Regions from separate parts of the Homo sapiens genome. Here all the other regions are linked to region 1. Evidence: promoter capture Hi-C in 16 types of primary human blood cells and fetal thymus (Javierre and others, 2016). All regions are on one chromosome and are shown on one strand. Each heading gives the region's core, a stretch centred on a gene start or on the middle of the fragment in contact. The rest is flanking DNA. Distances are from core to core; before and after follow the strand shown.

Region 1 (3,124 bases), core at 398-2,897:
TATATGGCATATATATATGGCATATATATATGGCATATATATATGGCTATAGAGATGGCATATATATATGGCATATAGAGATGGCATATAGAGATGGCATATAGAGATGGCATATAGAGATGGCATATAGAGATGGCATATAGAGATGGCATATAGAGATGGCATATAGAGATGGAATATAGAGATGGAATATATATGGCATATAGAGATGGAATATATATGGCATATAGAGATGGAATATATATGGCATATAGAGATGGCATATAGAGATGGAATATAGAGATGGAATATAGAGATGGAATAGATATGGAATATAGAGATGGAATAGATATGGAATATAGAGATGGAATAGAGATGGAATATAGAGATGGAATATAGAGATGGGATATAGAGATGGGATATAGAGATGGGATATAGAGATGGGATATAGAGATGGGATATAGAGATGGGATATAGTGATGGAATATAGAGATGGGATATAGAGATGGAATAGATATGGAATATAGAGATGGAATAGATATGGAATATAGAGATGGAATAGATATGGAATATAGAGATGGAATATAGAGATGGGATATAGAGATGGGATATAGAGATGGAATATAGAGATGGGATATAGAGATGGAATATAGAGATGGGATATAGAGATGGAATATAGTGATGGGATATAGAGATGGAATATATAGATGGAATATAGAGATGGAATATATAGATGGAATACATATATATTCCATTGCATTGTTCTTTACAAACATTCATTTAATTATGTAATTGCTAATTAATTGCTTGGTTGTTATAACAACGAAGTATTTGATTCCTTATTTTATCTCATCATTTAAATTTTATTTCGCATATTTTCACAATGCACTGGATCTATTACTGAGGAATTTAATTAAATAATCATTCGAACCATGGGCTCGAATTGTTTACTGATAAAGCCCGACGACCAAAACAGCCTAGCGACTGCTGTTTGGAGCCCCTCGGCCCAGGGCCCGTGGCTGTTCTCTCCAAGGGACCATCTCGCCCCTCAGCCAAGTCGCCCGGAAAACGAGCGCTCGACCGCCTCTGCCCCGCTCTCGCTCTGCACACAGCAACGGTCTGGTCGCTCAGCCACTTCCTCCTTCCAGCCTCATCTGGTTCCCAGGCCGCTGGGGACTCCCAACGCCACTGTCCAAGACTCTAGGGTCAGCAAGCGCCCCGGGCGGAGAAGGGCGAGGACGAAGAGCGCCGGGCCGCGACCAGGAGCCCACCCGCGCCCTCCGACTGCAGACATGGGGAAGAGACGCGGGAACTCCAAAGTCGCTGGGTCTGCGCAGGTGTGTGCCGCGATCCTGTGAAGGTCAAGGCCTCCTGTGAGGGGGAGTCGTCCTGGAATGCGATGGTGAAGTGCTCCAGACCGGCCATAGGCCGGAAAGAGTGAGGAAGAAGAGAATGCAGGAGGCCTGCGATTTCTAAGGCGCGCGCGCACAGGGGTGCTGCAATTAGGATGGGGCAATGGGAGCTTGGAGAAGGGGTGCTAGCTAGGAGGAAAGGCGCGTGCGTGGAGGAACGGCGCGTGCGCGGAGGGGCGGTGTGTGTGTCAGAAGAGGCGGCGCGTGCGTAGAGGGGCGGTGAGAGCTAAGAGGGGCAGCGCGTGTGCAGAGGGGCGGTGTGACTTAGGACGGGGCGATGGCGGCTGAGAGGAGCTGCGCGTGCGCGAACATGTAACTGGTGGGATCTGCGGCGGCTCCCAGATGATGGTCGTCCTCCTGGGCGCGACGACCCTAGTGCTCGTCGCCGTGGCGCCATGGGTGTTGTCCGCAGCCGCAGGTGAGAGGCGGGGAGGAGAGTCTTGGCGCAGGGCGGGAGGTAGGGCACGCAGCTGGGCTACGGGGGCGGCGATGCTGTTGGGGGCGACAGACGCCCAGTCTGGGAAACCTTCGGTCCACTTTGCCGCGCCAAAGATTAAACCCGACCTGGGCTCGCAAATCAACCAGGAGAAAGTGGTGTTCTGGGTCCTCTCTTGCCGCTTGCCTGTGGCCGTGTACGGGTCCTCGGGAGCGCCCGGGTCCCACCCCCGTGAAATGGCGGTGCCAGAGCTTTGTGTCGAGTTTGATTCTTTCCGGGAAAGTACCGCGGCTCCGCTGGTCTGTTTGATAATAAACAAAACATTTCCCGAAATGCATTTCCTCAATCTGGTGAATAGGCGCCCAGTCCCACGGGGGAGTGAGCTAAGTGTGGCCAGGATTTCTCTGCCCTCAGGATTCATACAGGCCAATAAAAAATGACAGTCGGAGTGACTGAAGCATAATTGTCAGTTCTCGAGGTTTACTAAGCCTGCTTCAGGGCGCATCCGGGAAAAACGTGAGCCACAAACACGTCTGTGACTGGTTTTCCAGAGGTTTTCAGGAGGTGGGGCAGGAAGGCAGTAAGGCAAATAGTTCTGTGAGAATTTAGTTAGTGCCCAAGAAATCTGTATTTTAAGATACCATGAGTGTCTTGAAGAGAAAAAGAGAGTAAAGGGAGTCAGTTATGCAGATGCCTCTGGGTAGATGGAGTCTTGACTTTGTTTTGCACCTGAGAAGATAAGCTTGTAATTGACATGGTCAGTGTGGAAGGCCTGAACTAGTTTTTCAGATTAACTTTGGAATGCCATTTGTTGAGAGGAGAGGTCCATTCACATTGTTGGGGGGCTTAGAATTTTATTTTTGGTTTACTTAACTACCTACTTTTTTCCCAAAGAAATAATCATGTTCAAAACTCAATGAAATGTTATCTCAATGAGATTGTAATGTTGCTCAGTCTTTCAGAAGTCATAAAAATAGTCATACTTTTTAAACTAGTAAATGCAATTCTAGGACCCAAGACTAAGAAAACTGTCCAAAATATGGGAAGACATTTTTATTTATACTTTTTTTTTTTTTTTTTTGAGACAGCCTGTTGCCCAGGCTGGTGTGCAGAGGCGTGATCTCAGCTCACTGCAACCTCTGCCTCCCAGGTTCAGGCGATTCTCCTGCCTCAGCCTCTTGAGTAGCTGGAATTACAGGTGCACGCCACCACATCCGGCTATTTTTTGTATTTCTAGTAGAGATGGGGTTTTGCCATGTTGGCCAGGCTGGTCTCGAACTCCTGACCTCAAACAATC
Region 2 (3,124 bases), core at 296-2,795, 130 kb after region 1:
TGTCTCAAACTTGCTTGCTATTGAATTGTGTAACATCAGATAATGGCAAGTTGTCAAAAGATAACCCCAGTGGATATTTGAAGCTGCTTTTACGAGAAGCATGGTGCTGAGCTGCCTTACACAGTCTTTTTACAGTAACCATAAAAAACTGAGTTTATTTGATCATGTATTATCCCTTCTCACATAAAGTCATATTAGAGGAATTCTTTTTAAAAGAAGCTTTCAAACTAGTCCTTTGGGCATTTAAAAAATCATTATATAAAAGTACACTTCTTCAATACATAAGAACAAATATTTTTTCTTTACCAAAAAAACCTCATTTTTAGGCCAAAATAAGTTACAACTTGCTGAAAACCTTTTATGGCTCAGTGCTCATTCTAGATATATGAAGCTATATTTTTTTGTACATCTTCAGAAATCAGATACTGAGAGTGGTCCTTCTTTTTTTTGAGAGGGAGTTTCACTTTCTCCCCCAGGCTAGAGTGCAGTGGCGCAAACTCAGCTCACTACAACCTCTGCCCCCCGGGTTCAAGCGATTCTCCTGCCTCAGCCTCCTAGGTAGTTGGGATTACAGGCACCCACCACCATGCCTGGCTAATTTTTGTATTTTTAGTAGATGGGGTTTCGCCATGTTGGCCAGGCTGGTCTCAAACACTTGACCTCAAGCAATCGGCCCGCCTCGGCCTCCCAAAGTGCTGGGATTACAGGCATGAGCCACCGTGCCCAGCCAGAGAGACAAGAGTGGTTACTTCTAAAATGACAAGATGATGTAACCCTGGCTCAGGGAGTAGATCAAGTTCTAAATCTCAGGAATAAAAAACTGATACTCATTATCCAATTCATATAGTCTTGTATTATATACATATTAACAGTCTATGCAATGAAAAATAAAGAAATTTCATAAAACTATTTCAAAACTCAGAACATAAAAATGTAAAGAAACAAAACATTTAATGTACAATCTACTCCATTTGGCAATGTGTACTGAGAGATAAAAAACCTATCTACAAACAGAATATAACAAAAGGAAAATGTGACTTAAGAAGTGATCTCAGGTCCATAGCTCTTCGGTTCTTCCAAATTTGTAGATCAGAGTGCTAGAAAGATAGGAAAACAAATCATGAGGAAAAAACCGATGGAACAAGCAACACAGAATTCATTTTCTCAATATGCTTTGACAGGTACTTCACTGATTCCTATCAATTTTAAAAATTAAATTAGACATCATGGCAGTGTTGGTCTTAATTTGCTTATTTTGTAAAGCAGTCTGTTAACTACGATGGCTAAGCATAACTGTATTCTTTCTTAAGGCCTGGGAAGTTATTAACAGGCAACTTGTAAGGAAAAGAGACATTTCTCTATGACTCAGAAACAAAAAAATGAATCAATAAATCAAAAGAAAAAGGGAGAGAGACCATTCTCATAGTGACAGGCATTAGGGCCATTTTATGTCTCCAGGAGCCTACCATATCTAAATTACAGTAACTGAAGCACCCTACAACAGACCATGCTGCAATTCTTCATTCCTTCAACAAATAATTATTGTGCACTGAAAAGTGGCTACGTACCAAGCACCTAAGTGCTGGGGTGAGACTGAGTCCAGACAAACTTGCTCCCTAATGGAGCTAAGGGTCTAATAAGGAGACAATCAAATAAATATAAAATTCCACCTATAAAAAAATGCTATAAATGAGAGGTGCACAGTATCCTCAGAGTGAAACATAAGGATCAGACCTAGTTAGAGAGGTCAGGAAAGGTTTTCCTGAGGAGTGGTGACTGAATTGAGATCCAAAAGAAGAGGGGGAATTATCTCGGCAAAGTGAGAGAGGATAAGGAGGCGGGAGCAGAGAGATGGGACACTCCAGGGCCATGAGTTGAGCTGTGGGCATACTAAATGTTTTGGATTTGAAATGTCAGCAACCCAAGAAGGGATGTGAAGTAGGAATCTGGATATACGGTTTAGGCCTGGAAAGGGACATCTGTGACTCACTGGCATATAAGCAATAATTGGAGTCCTAAGTACACATGAGTTCACCCAGGGACAGAAAAATAACAAGGAGTTTCTTAAGGCCAAGAACAGCTTTAAGAGACTTCAAAAGGTAGTAGGCAGGGAGTGGAGGATCAGCTTGCAAGGAAAACAGAGGAGTGACCAGAGATGTAAATAAAAGAGGTTGTACCCCAGAGCTTAGAACAGGTCCAGCACACAGGAAGCATACAGGCTGCCTGATAACTTGCCAGCCTCTGGGCAGAGCACATAGATGACACAGCTGTCAACTATGTCCACCTGAGCATACAAGGTTTCTGTTCATCCAATTGTCATTTAAGTGGATTCATCTACCACCACAAAGTGTTGAATCTGAACTTAATCTCTAAAGACTGCCTAAAATGTCTTCATAACAACTTACCATATCCCCAGAAGGCTGTCAGTCACATGTCTTTGACATATAAGACAGCAGAAACTGCCAAACATCTTTCAAAACCAGGAGTGTCAAGGCCACAAGGCGAAATCCAGGTAGAGCATGGTGGTCTGAGAGTGGAGGGAGACCACATGGCTAGAGTTTGCCATGCAGCGTACAGACAGCCACACAGAGGGAACGCAGGAGATCTGCAGGGGGTGCTCCTTCAGTCTGTGGCTGAGTACTGAAGAGTCTATACATAAGAGGAAACTACCCAAGGGAAGGAAAGAACCACTGGAAAGAACATGTCCCAGAGCTACCACAAGGCTGGAAGAGAGTTCATACTCTCACAAGTCGAGTAGAGAAACCTCGGAATACATGAAGCATCAGAGAGTGGAAACACTCAAAGGGTATGACTGCCTTAGTAGGGGGACAAATCAGTCCTGGGCTACAGCTGCTCTGGTCCTGCCTATAACAAAGCTTAAGAGACATAAAAGGATCAAATTGTTTCTGATTGTTTCTGAGTCACCTAACTGCATCCCAAAACAAAGCTTAAAAACATTTAAAGGACTAGCAAAGATCCAGTCCCAACAAATTGTATGCAAAGCACCAAATAAGGGAAAATAGGTCCAAAATGAAGAGTAAACAGAAGCAGAAAAAATCAGTAGAAGCAGATGCAGAAATGACACAGACAATTGGACAAGGACCCTGAGATAGCTATAAATATA
Region 3 (3,124 bases), core at 265-2,764, 100 kb before region 1:
AATAGAAAAGAATGTCTGGGTTACAGTAAGGGATTGTGGACACCAAGGTTTTATCACGCAGATGAAGCCTCCAAGTAGCTGGCTTCAGAGAGGATAGATTGTAAATGCTTCTTATCAGACTTAAGGTCTGTGTTGATATTAATGCTGGTCAGCTTTTCCTGAATTCCACAAGGGAAGAGGGTATAATGAGGCATGTCTGACCCCACCTTTCATCATGGCCTGAACAAATTTTTCAGGTTAACTTTGGAATGCCCTTGGCAGAGAGGACAGATCCATTCAGATGGTTGGGGGGAGGGCAGGGGCTGCTTATAACTATATTTTTTGGTTTACACTTCTTTTCTTGTGTATTCATTTAATGCCATACATTTTCCTCTAAGCACTGCTTTCATTTTATTCCACAAATTTTGATGTTTTATTTTCATTTTTATTCAGTTAAAATATTCCAATTCTTCCTAAGTCTTCTTCTTTGACCCATGTGTTATTTACAAGTTTATTGTTTAATCTCCAAATATTTTGGGACTTTTTCTAGCTATCTGTTATTGATTTCAAGTTTAATTCCATAAGATCTAATAGTATATTTTGTGTGATTTCTATTCTTTCAAATTTGTTAGCATGAGTTTTATGGCCCAGAATGTGGTCTATTTTAATTAATGTTTCACAAGAACTTGAGAATGGGTATTCTGCTGCTGTTAGATGACATATTCTATAAATGCCAGTTAGATCAAATTAATTGATGGTGCTGGTCATCTCAACTATATCCTTACTGATTCTCTCCCTGCTGGCTCAATCTGTCAATTACTGATAAACAGATATTGAAAACTCCAACTGTAATGATGGATTTGTCTATTTCTCCTTGCAGTTCTATTAATTTTTGCATCATATATTTAGACACTTTGGAGTTGGGTGCATATACACTAAGGACTGTTATGCTTTCTTGGAAAGCCGACTTTCTTATCATTATATAATTGTCTTTTACCCCAGATAATTTTCTTTGTTCCGAAATCTGCTTGCCTGAAATTAATACAGCTACTCCAGCTTTCTTTTGATTAATGTTAGAATGTCATATATTTCTCCATTTTTCTTCTTTTTTTTTTGAAACTGGATCTGCCTCTGTTGCCCAGCCTGGAGTGCAGTGGCACAATCATAGCTCACTACAGCCTTGAACTCCTGGGCTCAAGTGATCCTCCCACCTCAATCTCCTGAGTAACTAGGACTACAGGCACCTGCCACTACACCCAGCTAAAATTTTTTTGTTTTTTGTTTTTTTGGTTTTACTATGTTGGTCAGGTTGGCATTTTTAAAAATGTAATCTATCAGTGTCTCTATATTTAAAGTGGGTTTCTGGTAGACAATATATAGTTGGCCCTTGATTTATTTTTAAATCCACTCTATTAGTCTCTGTCTTTTAATTGGTACACTTAGACCATTCACTTAAATATACTATTGATAGTTAGATTAATATCTCCCATATTTGTAACTGTTTTCTATTCAATGCACTTGTTCTTTTTATGTTTATTGTTGTTGCTGTTATTGTTTTTCTTCCTTCTCTTTTTCTGCCTTCTCTGTTGTTGTTGTTTTTTTGTTTTTTTTTTTTCTTTTGAGACGGAGTCTGGCTCTGTCCCCAGGCTGGAGTGCAGTGGCACGATCTTGGCTCACTACAAGCTCTGCCTCCTGGGTTCACACCATTCTCCTGCCTCAGCCTCCTGAGTAGCTGGCACTACAGGCACCTGCCACCACGCCTGGCTAATTTTTTGTATGTTTAGTGGAGACAGGGTTTCACCATGGTAGCCAGGATGGTCTTGATCTCCTGACCTCGTGATCCGCCCCCTCGGCCTCCCAAAGTGCTGGGATTACAGGTGTGAGCCACCATGCCCAGCCCTTCTCTGGTTTTAATTGAATATTTTATATGATTCCATTCTCCCCTCACTTAGCACATTAATTGTATTAGTCAGGATTCTCTAGAGGGACAGAACTAATAGGACAGATGTATATATGAAAGGGAGTTTATTGGGAGAATTGATTCACATGATCACAAGGTGAAGTCCCACGATCAGCCATCTGCAAGTTGAGGAGCCGGAAAGCCAGTCCAAGTCCCAAAAGCTCAAAGTAGGGAAGCCAACAGTGCAGCCTTCAGTCTGTGGCCAAAGGCCTGAGAGCCCCTGGCAGATCACTGGAGTGAAGTCCAAGAGTCTAAAAGCCGAAGAACTTGGAATTTGATGTTTGAGGGCAGGAAACATCCAGCATGGGAGAAAGATGGAGGCCAGAAGACTTAGCCAGTCTAGCCTTTCCCCCTTCTTCTGCCTGTTTTTATCCTGGCCATGCTGGCAGCTGATTAGATGGTGCCCACCCAGATTGAGGGTGGGTCTGCCTTTCCCAGTCCACTGACTCAAATGTTAATCTCCTTTGACAACACCCTCACAGACACACCCAGGAACAATACTTTGCATCTTTCAATTCAATCAAGTTGAAACTCACTATTAACCATCACATTAATTATACTTCTTTTTAACAAATCTTTAGTGACTGCCCTAGAGTTTGCAATATACATTATAACTAATCTAAGTCCATTTTCAAATAACAATACACTAATTCATGGGTAGTACACAAGTATCTTAGAAAAGAGTATCCCCAATTTCTCCCTCTCAACCCTTATAACATTGTTATTATACATTTCACTTATTCATAAGCTATAATCAACCAATATGTTGCTGCTATTATTATTTGGACAATTATTCTCAACCTGATAAAGAACATCTACAGAATCCCTACAGCTACTCACAGAACTCAGGAAAGCACTTTACTTACTATTACCGGTTTATATAAAAGATACAATTCAGGAACAGCCAAGTGGAAGAGATACCTAGGACAAGGTATGGGAGAAAGGGGCACTGAGCTTCCATGCCGTCTCTAAGTGTACCAACCTCCCAGAACTTTAATGTGTTAACCAACCCAGAAACTCTTCAAACTCTGTTGGTTGTTCAGGGGTTATTTATGGAGGTTACATCATGTAGGCATGATTGATCATTAACTCAGTCTCTAGTCCCTCTCTCCTTCCTGGAGGTTGGGGTGGAGGGGGTAGGGCCAAAAGTTCCAGGCTTTATTGATTATTGGGCTTGGTCTTTTT

What was found. The method cuts DNA at HindIII sites, captures the fragments that hold promoters and counts their contacts. A CHiCAGO score of 5 or more calls a contact.
Region 2: a fragment that was not itself captured here is called in contact with the fragment with the promoter of IFNAR1 in region 1 in 1 of 17 cell types (total B cells); the score reaches 6.5 in total B cells.
Region 3: a fragment that was not itself captured here is called in contact with the fragment with the promoter of IFNAR1 in region 1 in 4 of 17 cell types (total B cells, activated CD4 T cells, neutrophils and 1 more); the score reaches 6.1 in total B cells.

What each region holds. Positions count from the first base shown.
Region 1 is chr21:33,323,323-33,326,446 of GRCh38, forward strand. IFNAR1 (interferon alpha and beta receptor subunit 1) reads left to right here and starts at 1,648. Exons shown (of 11, transcript NM_000629.3): 1 at 1,648-1,809. The coding sequence starts at 1,734. RefSeq lists promoters at 352-1,635, 989-1,659, enhancers at 672-1,574, 862-1,071, 1,292-1,341, 1,575-2,476 and cis regulatory regions at 1,080, 1,571-1,580, 1,637. The HindIII fragment of the contact is 6,325 bases long and covers 1-2,567 here.
Region 2 is chr21:33,449,767-33,452,890 of GRCh38, forward strand. It overlaps TMEM50B (transmembrane protein 50B), which reads right to left. Exons shown (of 7, transcript NM_006134.7): 7 at 1-1,097. The coding sequence ends at 1,052. Among named protein-coding and RNA genes, the nearest start is that of TMEM50B, 29 kb to the right of the region's middle. The HindIII fragment of the contact is 2,657 bases long and covers 218-2,874 here.
Region 3 is chr21:33,223,384-33,226,507 of GRCh38, forward strand. No RefSeq gene overlaps it. Among named protein-coding and RNA genes, the nearest start is that of IFNAR2, 5.0 kb to the right of the region's middle. The HindIII fragment of the contact is 4,332 bases long and covers 1-3,124 here.